Linked DNA regions of Homo sapiens: regions 1, 2, 3, 4, 5 and 7 are each linked to region 6. The links are contacts of gene promoters, found by promoter capture Hi-C in blood cells and fetal thymus (Javierre and others, 2016). All regions are on one chromosome and are shown on one strand. The core of a region is centred on a gene start or on the middle of the fragment in contact, and the rest is flanking DNA. Distances in the headings are between cores, read along the strand shown.

Region 1 (2,700 bases), core at 156-2,655, 6.6 Mb after region 6:
GAATTCATAATTCCTATTGATGGTATGGGAAGGGGAAATGGGCAAATTCATACCCTGCTTGTGGAAGTATAAATGAATTCAGTTCTTTTGACGTCCATTTGGGAACATGCCGTAATTGCAAAAAGTACAGAGCCTTAGACTAGCAAATCTATTCTAGGGAAGAATATTCTAAAGAGACAAAGAAGCAATTATGTATAAACAAGGGTACTCATTGTAAAGTTGTTTATATTAGTTAAAAACTGAAAAAAATCTAAAGGTATACAAACAAATAAACATTTAAATCAAACAATTCCCAGTTTGTAAATTAATTTGAAACGTCTGTATTTCAACAATTTCTTTCTTCTTCTTTTAGACCTAGCTCCTGGAGGTGGGGACGATTGGATCTATGATTTGGGCATCAAATATTCGTTTACAATTGAACTTCGAGATACGGGCACATACGGATTCTTGCTGCCGGAGCGTTACATCAAACCCACCTGTAGAGAAGCTTTTGCCGCTGTCTCTAAAATAGCTTGGCATGTCATTAGGAATGTTTAATGCCCCTGATTTTATCATTCTGCTTCCGTATTTTAATTTACTGATTCCAGCAAGACCAAATCATTGTATCAAATTATTTTTAAGTTTTATCCGTAGTTTTGATAAAAGATTTTCCTATTCCTTGGTTCTGTCAGAGAACCTAATAAGTGCTACTTTGCCATTAAGGCAGACTAGGGTTCATGTCTTTTTACCCTTTAAAAAAAATTGTAAAAGTCTAGTTACCTACTTTTTCTTTGATTTTCGACGTTTGACTAGCCATCTCAAGCAAGTTTCGACGTTTGACTAGCCATCTCAAGCAAGTTTAATCAATGATCATCTCACGCTGATCATTGGATCCTACTCAACAAAAGGAAGGGTGGTCAGAAGTACATTAAAGATTTCTGCTCCAAATTTTCAATAAATTTCTGCTTGTGCCTTTAGAAATACAACCATGCATTCCGTTTGCTCCACGGTAATTAGGCGATGGCCCAGAAAGGGGAGGGGTGTCAAAAACGACAAACATAGCCTCTCATTCCAGCTCAGCTGCTCAATAAACACTGTTGAACGAATGAATGAGTGGCTCTAGGTACTGTCAACAAATGCCGCATTTTGCGCATTTACAACAGCTGTTTATGGTAAGGAATTATGTAATAAAAAGAGAAAACTCACTTAAATTCACTTTTAATTGGGAATTTTAGTTCTCCCGGGCTCCCAGTTTCCTTTCCTAGGATCTCTCACAGAGCACAGATTCGATTTCCAAGTCCCGCCGCACTCTTACCGCTCGCATGGAACCTTACGCCTAGAGGGCGTGTCCACGAAGGGTGGTGTCTGCGCACTGACGACTAATCTGACGGCCGGAAGCTGCCTGGGTCTACAGAGGAACAGGGCAAACCTCTGACTTCCGGCGGCATTTTGAGGCGGTCCTCCTAGCGGCCTGGTAGTGTTTTTGTTGCCTTTTCTTAATCTACAATCTCTTCGTTATTTTTCTTCCTGCGACCCAGTTTCGCTTGACCCTGGAGAGGCGGCGGGCGGGTTGGTTCTGCTTCTCAGCCATCCCGGGGGCTCCTCGCTAGCCAAGAGCCGGTTCCCGGGAGCCGCGCGCGCATCGCTTTCTCCTCGTCGTCGTCCTCCTGGGTCCAGGCGCGGGGACAGAGTCGCCTCCCCCGCTCCTCGGAGCGGCGGCGGCGGTGGTGCCTCCGGACTGCACTTGCGAAGGGAGCTTGGGGAGGAAGTAAGCGTTCTGTGAATTGGTGTGGGTATCTGGGGAAGGCATTGAGCGGACCCGTAATGCGGAGGCCCGGGTTACCCCCCCCCGTCTTTGCTTGAGTCACTGGGATTTTGAGCTTTCCTTGAGCATCCCACCCTTAACTCTGCAATAGCCCCCTGTGCTCAGGCGTAATTTCTCACTCTGATTATGATTCTGGCATTTGTCTAAGGGCGATAAGTAGACTCAGACAATAGGCTGTACCCCTCGTTACCATTTGATGTAAGCACGGGAACCCTTGTATGGTGTTCGTATTTGTGTGCGATGGAAGGGTGCAGCAATTTGGGCTTAAATTTAGAATCTTCCTCTATACTCATTCCAGATCTGTTAGAGAAAAACATCTTACTTGTGATTGGTCTTGTTTTTTTTTTTTTCCCTCAGCAGTGATAACGATTTAGGTCCTGGGAATTGAGTGCTACTTTATCTTCACAAGCCTTAGGTAGGTAGTTTTGGCAACTGTCAGAAACGGGGGAAAGTGGAATAGAAAGAAGAGAGTCTGTTTGGCGGCATTATCTCTCTGTAATAGGCTAACGCAATTTATGTGGTTTGAAAATTATTTAGAGTTGATAATACTTGAATTATGTTGGTAAGATGTTGTTTGTGAAGGGTAGTCTTAAGGTATTTGGTTATACTATGGGGCTTTCAGGTAATTCGAACTACTTTGAAAATTATGGGAGTATGAAGTCTCTTAAGATTTTTGGATTTTTAAAGTAGTTTTAAAAATTTGGAAAACATCTTTACACCTCAAGTTTTCGAAGTCCGCGATACCGTTGGAGAATAAATACTTATGCAGTTCAGTCTATGGGTATATGGTGCCAGTTAGCGGGGTCTAGTTCTGTAACATTTGAAATTACTGGCTTTAGTACAATATATTGGAGCGTTTTGTGAATACAATCTATAGATTTTCAAATAATTTTTAT
Region 2 (2,700 bases), core at 88-2,587, 7.5 Mb before region 6:
TTACCCCCCTTTTGTAGATGAAGCAGCAAAGAAAGTTAAACGTCATCTCCGGTATCAAATAGCTAGTAAATGGCAGGAATAAAATCTGTATCTGGGTCTGTCATCAAGATATAAGGAACTACTTGTAGTTCTCCTGACCTTGCTGTTCTCCTGTAAGTTTCCCTAAAGATTATGTGCTCTTTGAGGACAGAGCTGTAGAGTCTGGCACAGTAAAACAAATATTAAAAAAGAAAAGCTGTAGTGTGAAGACTTACTGAGAACTAAGGCTCATTTTTTGAACCTCTGTGCCAAACTCCTCAGAGTACCTAGAGTTGTTTCTTGTACCAAAATCAATACTGCATGTTTCCGAGTCTTGGCCTACACCACCTCCATATAATCAGAAGACAGATATCTTAAAGGAATAGTTCCAAGGAAAAGCTCATTTTTAAAGAGGGTATATTGATGTGTTGAGAAAACGGTGTTTGCCTTGTAGCTTGACCTTGGGTTTACACAACAAACTCTTTTGCATGGTTTCAGTTCAAGGCCCTTTGTTATGTGACCTTAAAGTTTCTTCACCTCTATGCTTTCTTGGCCTTGCTCCTGCCTGGAATGGAATGCCTTTTAAATGAATGCCCTGCCACTGTTTCCTGCCTAGTGAAAACCTATGCAGCTTTCCTTTTACCTTTCCAGATCCACTCCTTCAGATTTAATAACTTCCCTTTTTGTTCTCAAGGAACTTCTAAAACAACTGCTATAGACATTTACATTCCTTGGTTAATTGTGTTAGGGTTTGGAAACTACAGGAGACTGTGAGCTCCTGAAGGGCTCAGCCTAGCCTAGCTCTGTCTGATTTTGGGTGGACCCCTCTGCCACCCCAGAGCGAGCACTTAGGCAGGAAATATGTCCAGAAGGCTTCCTTTTGGAGCGTCGTGGGCCCCGTCGTTTCATCCTGCCTAGTACCCCTTCCAGCACCGTACCCAGTCCCAGAACTACTTTTTCCAGCCCCAGACGTGCAAGGAGAGGGCTAGCAGATGGTTTTATATCCCAGCGCTGCTCAAATGGTGGCGCAGGGCCTGTCTCGCCCACCTTCCAGTTCTGCTGGAACCCTATCTGCAAATCCAAAGAAATCCAGGCCGATGACTTCCTCCACGGTCCCCGGCGCTTCTCCAAATCTGACGCCACTCTGCGTCCTTAAGGTGAGCGGCCTGGACCGCCGGAAGGGTTGAGCGGCTGCATAGACAGGCCGCAAGGCCAATCATGTTTCGCAGTGCCCGGAAGGGGCGGTGCCTCAGCGTGTCATTGATCCGGCGGCGCGGGATTGGCCAGTCCCGGGCCAACACGGGTGGCGGGAGTTTTCAGATGTGTTGGCTGCGGCCCCGACTTCAGCGGTTGGGCTAGGCTGTGCTGACTGTTTGGGTGGCGGACCCCGGGAGTAAAACCTGTTGTCGATCCCTCAGCTTCCAGCTTGCGGCTTGCTGAGTGGCCACCTTCTTTCCGGTCCCCGGAGCTGCGGGGAAAGATGGAACGGCACCAGCCGCGGCTGCACCACCCGGCCCAAGGCTCAGCCGCTGGGACTCCCTACCCTTCCTCAGCCTCTCTCCGCGGCTGCCGGGAAAGCAAGATGCCGCGCAGGAAGGGCCCCCAACACCCTCCGCCGCCCAGTGGCCCCGAGGAGCCTGGGGAGAAGCGCCCCAAGTTTGTGAGTATCGCCTGGAGCTAGGGTGGGGCCGCTCCCGCCCCGCCGTAGGGCTGACTGCCGAGGGTGGGCCCACAAGAACTTGGGGACCAAGTTTTATTCTAGAGATCCAGAGGTGCCAAAGATCATAGATTGACAACGACCGGGTCTAGTTGTAGTTGGATCCTGTGACAAATGCCCAGATCTTTGTGTTGCCCCCAAATTTCTTAACGCTGATGTGAAAAGCAGTTCAAACGTGTATATGTATTGACGTCATCTAGGTGGACATTGCATTTTTTAAGTCGAAGTTCTCCCTTCCTCCCTAGTGTAAGAGGGTATAAGATATATCAAAATGAACTTTTAGGTGACAGGTTTTTTTTCTGCTTATTATTTTAATAAGAACTTTTAATTACATATAAGAACTTTTAAGGTAGATATAATTTTCCAAGTTGAAACAGCTAGTTTTAGAACTTGGCGGGTGGTGTGGTCACTGCTAAAGAATGTTTTGCTTAGCTTGGAAAGAATTCTAAATATTTGAAACTTGCTATTCTGGTTTGCTTGTGTTTAACACTTAAGGAAAGTGTCATGATTAACACCTTGTCTTTTCGTTGGTGTCAACTAGTGAAAGTATAGGCAGTGATGATTATTTTGGGGTTTGTGTGTGTAAATAAATCACATAGAGGGTTGATAGATTTGGGATGAGTCCAACAGAATTGAAATTTCACATTGACCACTCCACCATTTTCCTTAGGAATATGGAAAAACTGTGTGTGTGTGTGTGTGTGTGTGTGTGTGTGTGTGAGAGAGAGAGAGAGAGAGAGAGAGAGTACAGCATTTGCCTTATGTGGGCAAGTAAAAATTGTGAGAAATTTAAGTCATGATTCACAAATTAAGGGAATAATGGTTTGTGAACCAGTTGCTAACTATAACATTTAGTTAAAAATAATAGTTGAATAAGACTGAGAGCCCATATTCTGATACATGAGATATATCAGAATACTGAAAATGAGAAACAGCATAGATTAATTGAAAATGAGGAACAGCAT
Region 3 (2,827 bases), core at 26-2,525, 7.3 Mb after region 6:
TGGCATGTATCTTTGCCTTATGCCAAAGATGTGACGATGTGACTAAATACGGAAGTTTTGTTTTGCTATTGAGCCAAGGTCTTGCTCTGTCATTCAGGCTGGAGCGCAGTGGTGCAATCATAGCTCAGTGTAACCTCCAACTCCCGGGCTCAAGCGATCCTCCCAGCTCAGCCTCCCTAATAGCTGGGATTACAGGCAGGCACCACCGCACCCAATTAATTTTTAATTTGTGTGTGTGTGTGTGTGTGTAGAGACAGGGTTTCAGTAGTTGCCTCCCAAAGTTCTGGGATTACAGGCATGAGCTACCATGCAGGACCTGTTTTGTTTTAATACTTAGTAATTGGGTGTAAAGTCCTTCAAAAAACAGGTGGGGCAGGTGGGAAACTCCCTTTGTGTGACCCTCTAGCACCAGGGATAAAATTTCAACTTCATCTTAAAGCGACAACATACTTTTCCAAGACCAAGTGCGAAATAGTAAAGGGAAGAGCTAGCTCCGTAGCCGTCCGCCACAGAATGCCACAAGCTTTCAATTATGGGACAAAATTGGAACACATGGAAACCCTGTGCAGACTCCCGTGACATCTTCCCTCCTCTCCAAGTCCCTTCCCACAGACCTTGCGCCCCACACGATTATTCCCCAGGGGCCGAGCAGGACGACTTGGGTCCCACTATCCGGACTCAGCGGTGCCCCCACAAAAGCGTCCCAAAAACTCCAGCTGGGGCAGCCCTGGGGCAGATGCTGAAAAGTTGTCAGAGGCCCTCGGGCAGTCCCGAGATCTACCCCAGGCCAGAGGGCCTGACCCTCCCTAAATGCGACGTTCTCCTACCTTGGTTGATACTCACGTTCCCAGAAAAGGGTGGAACCTAGGCTGGACGAGGCGCAGGGCCAAAGTTTAATTCCTCTAAGCTCCACCCAGCTCCCAGCACCTCTCCAGGCGGCCCCGTGGGGTAGGGCGGAGCCGGGTCCAACGTACTCCGCTTCCCCCGCTCCACCCACCCAGGGCTAGGGAGCGCCCCGAGAGTTGGCCTCCTCCCACGCTGCGCGCGCACCTCCCCGCCCCCACCCCTACCCGCTGGCGTGCCCAGTGGAACGGAGCCTTGTGTCTCCGCCTCAAGTCCCCGGATGCTCACCTCCCCGACTCGCCCCCGCTGTGGCCCCGCCCCCGCGCGGCTCTTCGTGCCACGTCACCGCCTGCGTCGCTTCCGGAGGCGCAGCGGGCGATGACGTAGAGGGACGTGCCCTCTATATGAGGTTGGGGAGCGGCTGAGTCGGCCTTTTCCGCCCGCTCCCCCCTCCCCCCGAGCGCCGCTCCGGCTGCACCGCGCTCGCTCCGAGTTTCAGGCTCGTGCTAAGCTAGCGCCGTCGTCGTCTCCCTTCAGTCGCCATCATGATTATCTACCGGGACCTCATCAGCCGTGAGTCCTCACTGCACTATCCTTACTGCCGCACACGGGGGTCTGGGGTGCGGGTGGGGGCGGGGAAGGCGCAGCCGTCGCGGGCCTAGGGGACGCCGGCGGTCTTAGCCGAGCGCGGAGGGGTCGGTGCCCGGGGCTCGCGCCCAGCTCTGGTGTGCTACGGAGGGGCAGATCCCGCGTGCGGCCGCCGGCGCGGGAAATGCGGGAAATGGCGGCGCCAGGCGCACGGTGATGGGCGGCTCTGTGTATCCGGCAGACGATGAGATGTTCTCCGACATCTACAAGATCCGGGAGATCGCGGACGGGTTGTGCCTGGAGGTGGAGGGGAAGGTGAGTCGGTCGGGCCTGCGCGTGGGGGAGTCCGGGCCGAGCGGGCTCGGGTTTCCTCCGCTCCCCCGCCTGAGGTTGTGCAATCCTCCCCGCCGCCTCCTGGCGGAGGAGACGCTCTTTCCGGGCTTGGGTTTTTCTAGAAAACTGGAGGCGGAGCTGATCCTGGAAATAGGCCCGCCGCCTCGGCGCCCATCCTCCTCCCGGGGTTGTCCGGGACATGATGCTTCCGGCTTAGGAGCCTGGAGTCCTTTCGTGTTTGTCCTGTCCCCACTTACCAACCGGAGGCATCACATGCCCGCAACTGGAAACAACTTTTTAATGACCCCATTTTTTGTTCCGGCCAACAGACAACTCTTTTAAGTTAGGTCGTTTTGAGAAATCCACGGGTCACAACTTTATTCCCAAAATGGTGCTTTTTTTATTTTCAGCAAGAACTAAGAATACTTCTTATCCGTGAACTATTGGCGTGGAAGGTGCTTTGGATGCGTTTGTGTCTTTTGCAATTATACTGCTTTTTCTTAATGCAGATGGTCAGTAGGACAGAAGGTAACATTGATGACTCGCTCATTGGTGGAAATGCCTCCGCTGAAGGCCCCGAGGGCGAAGGTACCGAAAGCACAGTAATCACTGGTGTCGATATTGTCATGAACCATCACCTGCAGGAAACAAGTTTCACAAAAGAAGCCTACAAGAAGTACATCAAAGATTACATGAAATCGTAAGTGATACTGGCAGTACCTAGCTGATGTCTAGAATCTTACAGGATTTAAAGATTGGCTAACTTTTGAGGTTCTTTCGCAGTGGGTATACTTTTGTGAAAGTCCTTGCTTTTTTATTAATGAGTTCACGGAAAAGAGTGGTTGCTTTTCTATAATATGAGCATACTGAAGCCTGCAGTCTGTTTCCGTTTAGAATTAGAATAGTATTTTGAAAATAGTCAACAAGAAATGTAAACATTCTTGAAAGATACCTTCTGTGAACTAGTAATTTCTTAACAGCTGGTTGCCTTTTTCAGTGTTTTCTTTTTTTAAGCTTGGATATTTTTTACTTTAAAAATTGATTTTACTGAAAATTCAATACT
Region 4 (2,700 bases), core at 55-2,554, 6.1 Mb after region 6:
CGGTTGGGTAACTGAGAACCAGGTAGCCTCGGTGGTAGGACCCAAACTGTGTGGGCGGTGAGCAAAAGGCACGGAAGGAAGAGGGCCGATCGCTTCCGAAGCGGCAGCCGACTGGGATTCACTACAAGCCCGGCGGCTCTTTTCCCGCACAAGCGCAGGGAGAGGAAACTTGGGCACCTCACAGGCGGCACCGAGTTGCCCGATCGCTCGGCGATGTCGCCGAGGGGGCTCGCGGCACTGCGCCGATGCCCCTGGCTCGGCCGAGGGCGTGCCACCTTTGTCTGGGTTTCCCCACCAGGATGGGCTACGCCTCGATGCAAAGACGGCTTGAACTGGTTGGAGGCGCCGACGCCGCTGTCCGCGCTGGAGTTCCCAGCCCTGCGCGGGGCCCAGGAAGCCGACACAGCCGCCTGAAACCTCCCACTTACACTGCGCGCACGCGGCGCGCCTGCAAGTCCCAGCCCCGCGGTTACTTCCCTGGCGCGGCAGCCACAGGGTGGAGAGCCGGAGACCCCTCGCTCTCAGGCGCAGAGGCCCGGCGCACCCCTGCCCTCCTGGCACTGCATCGCCGGACCAGGCAGGGCCCCCGTGCCCTCTCCAGGGCCCGCTTCTTCCGCGCCCACGCGAGTCCCTTCTTCGGGAGACAACGGGCCGATGGACCCTCCCTCCCCCAGCAAGACAAGATCTCCGACTGTCCACCGCGTTAGGGAACGCACGACAGACACCCAGACAGCACCCACACCCCTGCCCGCCCCTCGGCCCTCACTCACCTGCCTGCACCGTGTCCGAGAGGTCGTGCCCGGGGGCTGCGGTACGGGGAAATTCCTTCAATTTCCTGGCGCTCAGGTTCAGCCCCCCGGAGTTGGCCGCCTCCTCAAGCGCGCGCTCCAGACCCCGGTTCAAGGGCAGGTTGAAGCCCCCGCTGCCACCGCCGCCACCACCCGCCCCGCCGGGGGCGCCGGTTCCTCCGTGGTGCTGATGGTGGTGGTGGTGGTGGTGGGGATGATGAAGTGGGTGCAGAGTAGCTACCGAAAGGGCCGGGACGAAAGGTTGGGGTTCGCTTCCCGGCGTCGCCATCTTCTCCCGGGCCCCCCCACCCCGCCCCGCCGCTCCTGCGGGGGGGTCACAGCGTTCCCCGCGAGGGGAAAACGGCAGCTCGGGCTGAGTGCCGCAGTGCTCCACCGAAAGGCGCTGGAAGGAGGGGAGGAGGGTGTGGGCAGGCGCGTAGAATGGGGGGCGGGCGGGGAGGCGGCCGTGGCAGCTCGGTCTTGAAGGTTTCCTGTCCCCGGGAAGCTAAGGACTGCGGCGGCGGCGGCGGCGGCGGCAGCGCGCATGTGTCTCCTCCCGCCCCTGCGCCCTCCCCCCGGCTGCTCTGCCCTCCTCCGCCGTCTGCTCTCTCCTCCTCCTTCCCCCACGCAGTCTGCCCCGCCTGAGCCTTCCTCCGCGCCTATTCTGCCGGCCGCCGCCGCCTTGCCGCGATCCGCCCCGCAATCGGGTACACGGCGGGGCTGGACGTCTGCTCCGGGGCAACTGAGGCGCCGAACCTCTCTCTGGGCGTCCTTTTGCCGCCCAGGAGGCTTTAGGGGACTGGAGGTTGCGGGGATAGGGGGGTGGTCTGAGAACACGGATAAAACGGCGGGAGGCAATGAATGGGATTTACAGTACAGTGAGGTTTGGGGCAGGAGAGGGTTCTCTCAATTCTGCGATTTATTCTGGCCGTTTAACCCAGAGATCCCCAAGAGGCAGTTTTCATTCACTATGGGGTCATCCCTGCAGATGCCCCCTGGCATTTGGGCGCTTACAATGAACCAGACGCTTGTTTAGGGAGTCTACGTAAGTTACCTCATTAATCCAGGGACCCCAGGAGTGCCAAAGTTGTTCCCCTGAGTCTACAGAGGAAGTTAATAAATGTATCTAAGGTCACCCCTGCAGTTAGAGGGGCGCTAGATTCGAGCTAGGGCCCTCAGAATCTAGGGTTGCCCTCCTTCACAGTGTACCCCTGGGCCAGACGCCAGCGCCAAGGGACGAATACGAGTGGGACAGAGTGTTTGCTGAGCGGCAGAAGAAAGCTACAGACATAGGAAAGAAAAACTCAAAATGAGGGCAGTGTTTATGGGGGACAGAAGACATTGTCGTAGGAGAAAGATGAGCTGGCTGCTCCCCGAAATTGGGTGGTGCCAGGAGAGGCTAGAAAGCCAGTGACCCCAAACAGCAAATCAGTCACAGCTCGAGTCTGAGCTGAAAGAACCATCGAAGTCTCCTTGTGCCCTTCTTCTTCCCGCTTTGGGGCATGGAAACGAACATGTCCGCTTGCAAGTGAATTCACATTCTGCCATCAGCCACCCAGTGGCACCCAGGCCAATGCTGGCACACCAGGGGCGACAGAGAACATCTGACACCCTAAGGGCAGACCAGCTGGACGATTAATAGAATACCATTCCTTTCCTGAAGTTAAAGCTTCATGTCCAACTTTCCAGGGCCTTTATTTTTGCTCTATTCTTAAGGCTTGATTGTCCCCTATGAGCGACTTGGCTTGGGGAAAATGAGTCGGGGGGTGGGTGCGGGGTTGTCGGGGTGTCAAGCACGAAAGTAATGCAACCCTTGGAGTAGGGGAGCTGGTTTTTTAAGTGGTAATACATAAGTTTGATGGCCTAGACAACAGGCTGGAACTGGTGACTTCATGGACTCGGCACTTAAGTA
Region 5 (2,700 bases), core at 167-2,666, 8.1 Mb after region 6:
CGTGCCCGCGCGCGCCGGCCGCGAGTGTGAAAAGAGCGGACACACCTAACCTGGGCGCGCGGCAGGCGCGCACCCTGCCCGCCCCCACCGGGCCGAATCACGCAGTCCGACCCGGATTCGCTCCTTCGGCCGGAATTCCCCACCCCCACTATCCCCTCCGGCTCCACCACTCCCGGCTTCGGCGCCTCTGCCAGCCTTCGGTAATTTCCGTCGGGAGACCTGGCGCTCGCCTAGGCCCGAAGACCCGCCGCCTCCTGCCCCGCCAGACCCGGCTTTATGTCTGCGGCGCCGAGGCGCATGCGCAGACGCCATCTTCCCTCCTCCTCCTCCGCCTGCCCCCTCCCCCCAGCCACCACCGCCTCCTCTCGCCGGCGGTCGCCCCTCCTCCTCCTGCGCTCCGCGCTGGTCCCTCCCCTCCCGATGCCGCGAGAGACTGGGGGATACGGTGGAGCCGGGGGAGCCGAAGAAGAGCACTAGTAACAACCACCACAGCCCCCTCCCCGCCCGACACCCTCCCTCGGCACCCACTCACTCCCCCGCCCCGTTTGCCGACACCGACCAACCCCACCTCGTTCCTTTGAACGGCGTCGGCTGCAGTCGCTGCACCAGCCCGTCTGGCCACCAACGCCGCGGAGAAAGGAGCCGCCGCCGCCTGCGGCCCTCTCCCGCCCGGTCGCGGGAGCAGCGGGGTGAGGAAGAGCCGGCTGCGGAGGAAGAGGATAAGAGAGGGTCGCACCCTCCGCCCTAGCGCACGTCCCGCCGCCCTCCGGAGAGGCTCGGGTGCCGGCCCCTTCCTCCCCGAGGACGTGTGCCGAGTCGAGGCGCCTGCCCTGAGGGAGGAAAATGCTCGGGCTCCATGGCTGCCAGTGATGGAGCGGTCCCTGGGCTCCCGCTGCCACCGCCGCCGCCGCGCCCCGGCCGTGCTCCGCGAGGACCCGGCGTCTCTGCGCGCCCGCCCGCGCCTCGTTGCTGGGCTCACCGTACCGGGCGCCTCGCCGCCGCCCCGCTCGCAGCCGCGTCGCCCCGGCCCCAGCCGCGGCCAGCGTTTCCTCACCGAGCAGCCGCCGCGAGCCCAGGGGGTTTGAAAGGGTCTGCGGGGCGCGGGGGGAGGGCCGAGCGGGGCCGGGAGGGGAGGTTTGAGCGACACTGAGCTCGGGGCTCGCTGGCGGCGGCGGCGGCCCCGGGGGTGGCGAGGGGAAGGCGACATTTGCTTGGCGCTGCCTCCGTGCAGAGCGGCCGGGAGGGCTTTGCAGCGGCCGCCGACGCGGCGGGAGGAGGGGGCTGAGGCGGCTTCGGAGTTGGCCGGAGAAGGTGGGCATTTCTCGCTTTTCCTCCCCTTCCTGCGCTCTCCCCCTCCCTCCTGCCCCGCACCCCACGTGAAGCAGAATATAAAGGGGGGTGTGAGGCTAGAGGGGAAAGTGAATGGCGAAGGACTGAAGGGATCCCCCCTTCGGGTCCCCGGCCGCCCTGTTCACCCTCGTTCATCCTCCTTTCCGAAGCTCGCTCTCGAAGGCAGGAGCGACCGGCGCCTTTGGCTGAGGAGGAGGAGAAGGAGGAATCGCGCCAGGCGGAGCGTCAGGTCCCGTTTTCCTCTCCGGCGTCTCCAATACAAAGATTACGGTGCAGAAGGAAATTGCACTCGTCTCCTCCGCGCCCCCGGTACCCAACACAATGCACCAGCCGCCTGAGTCCACCGCCGCGGCCGCCGCCGCTGCAGACATTAGCGCTAGGAAGATGGCGCACCCGGCAATGTTCCCTCGAAGGGGCAGCGGTAGTGGCAGCGCCTCTGCTCTCAATGCAGCAGGTACCGGCGTCGGTAGTAATGCCACATCTTCCGAGGATTTTCCGCCTCCGTCGCTGCTTCAGCCGCCGCCCCCTGCAGCATCTTCTACGTCGGGACCACAGCCTCCGCCTCCACAAAGCCTGAACCTCCTTTCGCAGGCTCAGCTGCAGGCACAGCCTCTTGCGCCAGGCGGAACTCAAATGAAAAAGAAAAGTGGCTTCCAGATAACTAGCGTTACTCCTGCTCAGATCTCCGCTAGTATCAGCTCTAACAACAGTATAGCAGAGGACACTGAGAGCTATGATGATCTGGATGAATCTCACACGGAAGATCTCTCTTCTTCGGAGATCCTTGATGTGTCACTTTCCAGGGCTACTGACTTAGGGGAGCCCGAACGCAGCTCCTCAGAAGAGACCCTAAATAACTTCCAGGAAGCCGAGACACCTGGGGCAGTCTCTCCCAACCAGCCCCACCTTCCTCAGCCTCATTTGCCTCACCTTCCACAACAGAATGTTGTGATCAATGGGAATGCTCATCCACACCACCTCCATCACCACCATCAGATTCATCATGGGCACCACCTCCAACATGGTCACCACCATCCATCTCATGTTGCTGTGGCCAGTGCATCCATTACTGGTGGGCCACCCTCAAGCCCAGTATCTAGAAAACTCTCTACAACTGGAAGCTCTGACAGTATCACACCAGTTGCACCAACTTCTGCTGTATCATCCAGTGGTTCACCTGCATCTGTAATGACTAATATGCGTGCTCCAAGTACTACAGGTGGAATAGGTATAAATTCTGTTACTGGCACTAGTACAGTAAATAATGTTAACATTACTGCTGTGGGTAGTTTTAATCCTAATGTGACAAGCAGCATGCTTGGTAATGTTAATATAAGTACAAGCAATATT
Region 6 (2,700 bases), core at 10-2,509:
CTTTTTGTTGCTTCACATACAGGCCAACTTCATTCCTACCTCAAGATCTGCACTGGCTCTTGGTCCTGCCTGGAATATTCTTTCCCCAGAGCTTCCAAGTTAATTCCCTTGTTCCTTCAAATCTCCACTCAAAGATCTCCTCAACGGAGGCTCTAGTACCATGTGGCACATTTCTTATAAAAGTCATAGCTAGAAAAGACGCTGTCTTGCCTCAAATTGTTAAACGTAACAGCAAAACAGGTTTCCTCTTTTCTGTGATTTAACGCAAAAACAAACAAAAACTCCTGGCTAAATTCTGTGACCCGCAGCATCATTTATCTTTAGGTTCTCCTTTAATTCTTATTATTTAACTCTTGATCTTTTACATTCCTTTACAGCTTTATGGTTTGCCTTCATTGCACACCTACAAAAAGTGATTTCTAGGTTAGCTGAGTATATAACCAAGACTTTAACCCACAGCAATCAGCGCCTTTGCACACAGCCACTCCAAAAAAAAATTTTGATGAATATACAAATGAGTGAATAATGAATTGTGATAAGACATCTGGAAAGTTTCAGGGACGTGAGGGAAAAGGGTTTTGCTCCAGTAGACTGACTTCATACCGACACTTTTACGTAAGAATGGCAAGAATTATTGTCAAACGAAAAAATTAACTTCATCGAGCCCAGAGTCCACTTCTCTAATCATAAATGTCATTAAAAAAAAAATCCTTTCAGCCAAACTACAAATGCCAACCATGCTCCCAAGAAATAGAGGAGGTTTTTCTCAGGAGCTGTAGGGAGTGGAAAGGGCAAGACAGGAGTCTGGGGTAACGCGGCTACCGTGTAACAGAGAAAAGAGACGGAGAATCTCAATACCGGAGCTGAGACGCAGCATCAACAAGAGCCTGGGTCCCTGTCCGGCGGTGCGGGGAGAAGGCGGGTCAGCGGGGACCCGAAGTGGCCCAGCTCCCCTAAGAAGAGTGGAGGAAGCAGAAATGGGCTCTCTCACCTCTAACGCCGCCTGGGGGTCCTCGTCGATTAGGGCATCCGAGAAGCTCTGGAAAAACCTGTCAGGAAAACAACGACTTCAGCAGGGCTCACTAGCCAAGGAAAGGGGGATAAAATAAATACCAAAGGGAAAGAAAAACATGCACCTCTGGGATGTTGCAGTTCCTGCTGCAGCCGCCGCCATCCCTCGTAGTCGCTGTTGCTGCCGCCGGAGCTGCTACTATCACGGTTACCACCTCCACCACCGCCCAAGGGGGAAACTTCTGGAGAAACACCAACCGAGCTTCCGTCCTAAATAGCCAGCGAGCAGCCACGCAGCGTGCTGCTAGGGGGACGGGAGGCGACACGCCGGCGCGGGGCCGGCTGGGACAGTGGAGGACCGATTCCTCCCAGCCGCACCCCGGCCCAGGACCCGCGCTCCCAGTCCCCGCCCCTCGCAGCCATGGTTACGGAGGCCTGGGGCGTACACGTTCTTCCTCCCTTCCACCGCGCCCACGCCAGCGGGCACTCCCACGGAGCTTTCAGTAGTACTTTAGAAGCACTTTTGTAACGTACTGTCATCCCTAAGGAACGTGTGGCGGTTAGGGGCGTTTGTATGTCTGTTAATAACGGAAGCTACTTCGAGCTCCCATTTTCCCTAGTTTTTATCATGGCTGCCACAGCTAGCCAAGCCCTTTCGCCTCCATTACGTCTTTAGCGGCTGCGTGGTCTCTTCCGGGAGCAGAGGCCCGGATGACGCGTGGATCCCCGCGATCTTTGGGCTGGGGATTCTAAACGACTGGGACTTGCCGGAAGTCATTCTGCACTAATAGCGGCAAAAAGCCTTCTGGTTCCTGGGGCGACGCGCCCGGCGGCCGTACTATTCACTTCCCCAGAACGCCACAGCCCAGGCTTTCTTCTTAGTGGGCTTCCCAGACCAAGAAGGGAAACCTTTCATCCGAAGGTACTGAGGGGAGGAAGGTGGCCTGAAGTTATCTCAGTGCCGCTTTGTTTCCCACCCCAGTCGGTCAGCCCTTCCTCAGCGCCCTTTAACCCTTGCAGATCGGATGGAGAAAGCTGCCAGCACGTTCTAGGGATGGGGGCAGATTGAGGAGCGGGAGGGAGTAGTCTTTGTCTAACTTTATACCAGTACCAAACTATGTTAATTTAATGTAGTTTTATAATAAATCTTTAAGTCCTGTAACTTATTCTCCCAAGATTGTTTTGGCTTATTCTACGGCCTTTGTATTTCTAGGTGAATTTTGGAATTAGCTTGTTAAAAAGGGGGGGGATTTTTTATTGGGCTCGCATTGAATCTATAGATCTGTTTGGGAAAACTAGTATCTTAACAACAAGTCCTTCAATCCATGAATATCATTCTTCCCCCACCATTTATTTAAGCGGTCTTTAATTTCTCCTGGCAATATTTTGTAGATTGCACATATATCTATATTTTAATGCAGCTGTGCTTGGATAGATTGCAGTATAGAGATCATATATATCTTTCATTAGATTTATTCTTGAGTATTTAGTGTTTTGTATACAATGTTAAATGGCATTTTGACTTTTTTATATTCTACTCGTAAGAATAAACAATATTGATTTTAACATACTGACCTTATATGCAAGCATCTTGCTAAGTTCCCTTGTTATTTGTAATACTCTGTAGATTCTTTCGGAATTTCTGTGATCAAAATCTTGCAATCCACGAATAAAGATGGTTTAACTTCT
Region 7 (2,823 bases), core at 313-2,812, 7.2 Mb after region 6:
AAACCCAAGAAAGAACGCCTATTTGATGGCTGAGCATACAACAGTGAATGTGAAGAGAACGTTTAAATCAAATCTCTAAAGTTGGAGGACAGAAAAAGTTGAAGACTCTAAACTCAATCTGCATTTGGACACAATTCCAAATCGTATAAAAAGAATGCTTCAGGCCAGGCACGGTGGCTCACGACTGTAATCCCAGCATTTTCGGAGGCCGAGGCGGGCAGATCACTTGAGGTCAGGAGTTCGAGAACAGCCTGGACAACAGGGCGAAACCCCATCTCTACTAAAAATACAAAAAATTAGCCGGGTGTAGTGGCAGGCACCTGTGATCCCAGCTACTCGGGAGGCTGAGACAGGAGAATCGCTTGAACCCGGGAGGTGGAGGTTGCAGTGAGCCGAGGTCACGCCACTGCACTCCAGCCTGGGCGACAGAGCGAGAGAAAAGAATGCTTCCAACATCAAAAGTAACCATCACCACTGCTTATATAAAATAATCCTCCTAAACCTGGCCCTCAAAACTGGAAAACGTTTGTCAAACATCTGACAATTCATGTTACTTCCTGCTATTACAACTAATTGAATTGAATCACACAAGAAGCAGTAGTGCATAATATCCTAATGGTAAGTGGATTAAACACATTGACTCTAACACCGAAAACCAGCACTGCTTAATAATGTACTGAGCCAACTTTCAAATAAAATTCATTTTTATTGCTTTGCAATAGGTGAAATAAATCTGATCTCCCATAACTTGCACTTGATTGAGAGCTCATAGTTCAATGTGCGATAAATGAAACTCACTCAGGACCAAGTTTTGGTCTCCCCAAGACCCCCATGGACAAAGCAACCTAGGTGAATCATTAAGGCGGTAAACGAGCACGCGCTGGAGACTGTCCTGCAGCACAGCACCTCGGGTTGACTGCCTCTCCTTCTGGGAGAGAGTGGGCAGCAGGATTACGCCTCGGCTGACAGGACGCCTCGTCTGGGGCAAAACGTTCGGTGCAAGGCTCCGGGCCAACCGTCCCATGCTGCTGGGGGAGGACTGGGTTCCGGCGAGCACCAGCTGCAGGACACCCCCACAGCCGTCCCCAGGCAGAATTAGAGTCGGGGTCGCAGGCAGAGCGAAGCCTGACAGCCTGGGAGATGAGGCCCCTCCCACCGGATCCGCCACCATGGCCAGGGAGGAGTGGAGAGATATCCTGGGCAGAGGCTAGTGAGGCCGGGGTCCTGCCGGGGCGCCCGAGGAGAATCCCAGCCCCATCGCCCCGGCCCGGTTCCTGCCCATCACCTCACCTCAGCTGGCACCGGCAAGTTCTCTGCCGCCGCCTTCAGCTCCAATACCGAGTCCGTCTGCCTGTCGGTCAGCGGCGCCGTCGTGTCCGGTCTCCGATCCCAGAGAGCCAGCTTTTCCCTAGCGTCCCGCTCCGCCGCCGCCTCAGGCAGCAGCAACAGCGCCGCCTCCGCCATCGCCGCCGCCCTCGCGGCCTTCAGCAGCAGCGAGATGGAGGGGACCCCGACAGAGAGACCTGGGCCACTTCCGGGAGAACCGGAGCTTCCAACACTGCACCGGCGGCGGGGCGGGACGGAATGCCCTGACCCCGGAAACGGTTCCGCAGTGTGGGGGGCGGGACCGAGGCCAGTACCGACGTGGCTTTAAATGGGTACGACTATTTCCGGTTGAAACGTAGAAGGTGGAGAAGACAGGACCCAATGGAAATAGAAATGCCCCTACCGGAAGTCTTTTCCTCAACATCAATAACTTTATTGTTACGTGTTGTACAGATTATTGACAACTGCGCTAAATCACCCTGCCGGCAGGAGACTTGGATCTACACCTCTCTGCTTACAGCTGGGTAGTCTGGGTAGAATGTGTGGAGTGTATGATTTCCATGTTGGCATGTTGACAATTTATGCCTCTTGGATCAAAACCAAAAGCATAAACTTTTCCAACATCCAGTAATTCCCCTACTAGAAAACTAATTTACGGAAACACATAAAAAATTCAAAGATGTGTGTATCTCAGACATCATTAATGGTATCAAATAACTGGAGACAACCTAAATGTCCAACATTGAAGAACTGGATCAAGAATTTGTGGCACAGACCAGGCGCGGGGGCTCAGGCCTGTAATCTCAGCACTTTGGGAGACCGAGGTGGGCGTATCACCTGAGGTCAGGAGTTTGAGACCAGACTGGCCAACATGGTTGAACCCCGTCTCTACTAAAAGCACAAAAATTAGCCAGGCGTGGTGGCACATGCCAGTAATCAGCCTGAGAGGCTGAGGCAGGAGAATCTCCTGAACCTGGAAGGTGGACGTTGCAGTGAGCAGAGATCTTGCCACTGCATTCCGGCCTGGGCATCAAGTGAGACTGTCTCAAAATGTATAATAATAATAATTTGTGGTACAGACATGTAATTCTACTCTACCATTTAAATCATATTGTAGATTTGAGCAACAAAATAAATAATGATAGTATTGGATCATAATTTACAGAATAAAATAAATACCCATGAGTCCATACTGCTATAAATAAACGATTGAATAAATAAATGGTGGAGAACAGACAATCTTCTACAAGTTATGGAGGCCTCTTCCTGCTCCTCCCTGGAGTCAAGGCAGGTGGAAACAGCTTCGTAGCAATTTTGACCATTGTCTGGGTAAAGTCTGAAGGCTTTATTCAGGCTTTATAGCACAAATCAGTGCCTGGCTATGTTCCCAAATGAAGGCTCTGATCTTTTAAGAGCAGAATTTGAGACCGGGCGCAGTGGCTCACACCTGTAATCCCAGCACTCTGGGAAGCCGAGGTGGGCGGATTACCTGAGGTC

Evidence for each region. Contacts are between HindIII fragments. The CHiCAGO score rates a contact against its expected background, and 5 or more counts as called.
Region 1: the fragment with the promoter of ZC3H13 here is called in contact with the fragment with the promoter of SUGT1 in region 6 in 2 of 17 cell types (non-activated CD4 T cells and total CD8 T cells); the score reaches 8.9 in non-activated CD4 T cells.
Region 2: a contact is called between the fragment with the promoter of DIAPH3 here and the fragment with the promoter of SUGT1 in region 6, in 2 of 17 cell types (total CD8 T cells and naive CD8 T cells). The highest score is 6.7, in total CD8 T cells.
Region 3: the fragment with the promoter of TPT1 here is called in contact with the fragment with the promoter of SUGT1 in region 6 in 1 of 17 cell types (non-activated CD4 T cells); the score reaches 5.5 in non-activated CD4 T cells.
Region 4: a contact is called between the fragment with the promoter of LRCH1 here and the fragment with the promoter of SUGT1 in region 6, in 1 of 17 cell types (naive CD8 T cells). The highest score is 5.4, in naive CD8 T cells.
Region 5: the fragment with the promoter of TSC22D1 here is called in contact with the fragment with the promoter of SUGT1 in region 6 in 3 of 17 cell types (naive CD8 T cells, activated CD4 T cells and total CD4 T cells); the score reaches 7.6 in naive CD8 T cells.
Region 7: the fragment with the promoter of COG3 here is called in contact with the fragment with the promoter of SUGT1 in region 6 in 3 of 17 cell types (monocytes, total B cells and naive B cells); the score reaches 13.9 in monocytes.

What each region holds. Positions count from the first base shown.
Region 1 is chr13:46,051,451-46,054,150 of GRCh38, reverse strand. It overlaps ZC3H13 (zinc finger CCCH-type containing 13), which reads left to right and starts at 1,405. Exons shown (of 19, transcript NM_001330564.2): 1 at 1,405-1,747. It overlaps CPB2 (carboxypeptidase B2), which reads left to right. Exons shown (of 11, transcript NM_001872.5): 11 at 353-965. The coding sequence ends at 537. CPB2-AS1 (CPB2 antisense RNA 1) reads right to left here and starts at 1,303. Exons shown (of 3, transcript NR_046227.1): 1 at 1,186-1,303. RefSeq lists enhancers at 1,240-1,439, 1,450-1,619, 1,149-1,684, 1,685-2,221. The HindIII fragment of the contact is 2,282 bases long and covers 490-2,700 here.
Region 2 is chr13:60,162,565-60,165,264 of GRCh38, reverse strand. DIAPH3 (diaphanous related formin 3) reads left to right here and starts at 1,337. Exons shown (of 28, transcript NM_001042517.2): 1 at 1,337-1,678. The coding sequence starts at 1,499. It overlaps LOC105370227 (a long non-coding RNA gene), which reads right to left and starts at 1,208. Exons shown (of 2, transcript XR_942001.2): 1 at 1,066-1,208. RefSeq lists an enhancer at 899-948. The HindIII fragment of the contact is 7,568 bases long and covers 1-2,700 here.
Region 3 is chr13:45,339,631-45,342,457 of GRCh38, reverse strand. TPT1 (tumor protein, translationally-controlled 1) reads left to right here and starts at 1,275. Exons shown (of 6, transcript NM_003295.4): 1 at 1,275-1,416; 2 at 1,673-1,746; 3 at 2,274-2,464. The coding sequence starts at 1,389. TPT1-AS1 (TPT1 antisense RNA 1) reads right to left here and starts at 1,113. Exons shown (of 11, transcript NR_024458.1): 1 at 1,071-1,113. It overlaps LOC124903169 (a long non-coding RNA gene), which reads right to left and starts at 1,024. Exons shown (of 2, transcript XR_007063781.1): 1 at 828-1,024. RefSeq lists silencers at 899-1,098, 1,259-1,368, 1,449-1,518 and an enhancer at 1,416-2,205. The HindIII fragment of the contact is 2,255 bases long and covers 526-2,780 here.
Region 4 is chr13:46,551,774-46,554,473 of GRCh38, reverse strand. It overlaps LRCH1 (leucine rich repeats and calponin homology domain containing 1), which reads right to left and starts at 1,304. Exons shown (of 20, transcript NM_001164211.2): 1 at 771-1,304. The coding sequence starts at 1,077. RefSeq lists enhancers at 171-490, 147-847 and silencers at 1,051-1,110, 1,171-1,360. The HindIII fragment of the contact is 3,547 bases long and covers 1-2,459 here.
Region 5 is chr13:44,575,046-44,577,745 of GRCh38, reverse strand. It overlaps TSC22D1 (TSC22 domain family member 1), which reads left to right and starts at 1,416. Exons shown (of 3, transcript NM_183422.4): 1 at 1,416-2,700. The coding sequence starts at 1,672. It overlaps TSC22D1-AS1 (TSC22D1 antisense RNA 1), which reads right to left and starts at 1,850. Exons shown (of 3, transcript NR_038381.1): 1 at 1,476-1,850; 2 at 569-704. RefSeq lists silencers at 1-153, 424-663, 674-1,383 and an enhancer at 1,704-1,943. The HindIII fragment of the contact is 6,017 bases long and covers 1-2,700 here.
Region 6 is chr13:52,651,395-52,654,094 of GRCh38, reverse strand. It overlaps SUGT1 (SGT1 assembly cochaperone of MIS12 kinetochore complex), which reads right to left and starts at 1,259. Exons shown (of 13, transcript NM_006704.5): 1 at 1,137-1,259; 2 at 992-1,049. The coding sequence starts at 1,174. SUGT1-DT (SUGT1 divergent transcript) reads left to right here and starts at 1,788. Exons shown (of 1, transcript NR_170300.1): 1 at 1,788-2,700. RefSeq lists enhancers at 779-898, 1,008-1,509, 1,619-1,958 and a silencer at 1,259-1,528. The HindIII fragment of the contact is 4,517 bases long and covers 1-2,700 here.
Region 7 is chr13:45,463,678-45,466,500 of GRCh38, reverse strand. It overlaps COG3 (component of oligomeric golgi complex 3), which reads right to left and starts at 1,562. Exons shown (of 23, transcript NM_031431.4): 1 at 1,291-1,562. The coding sequence starts at 1,464. The HindIII fragment of the contact is 5,472 bases long and covers 1-2,823 here.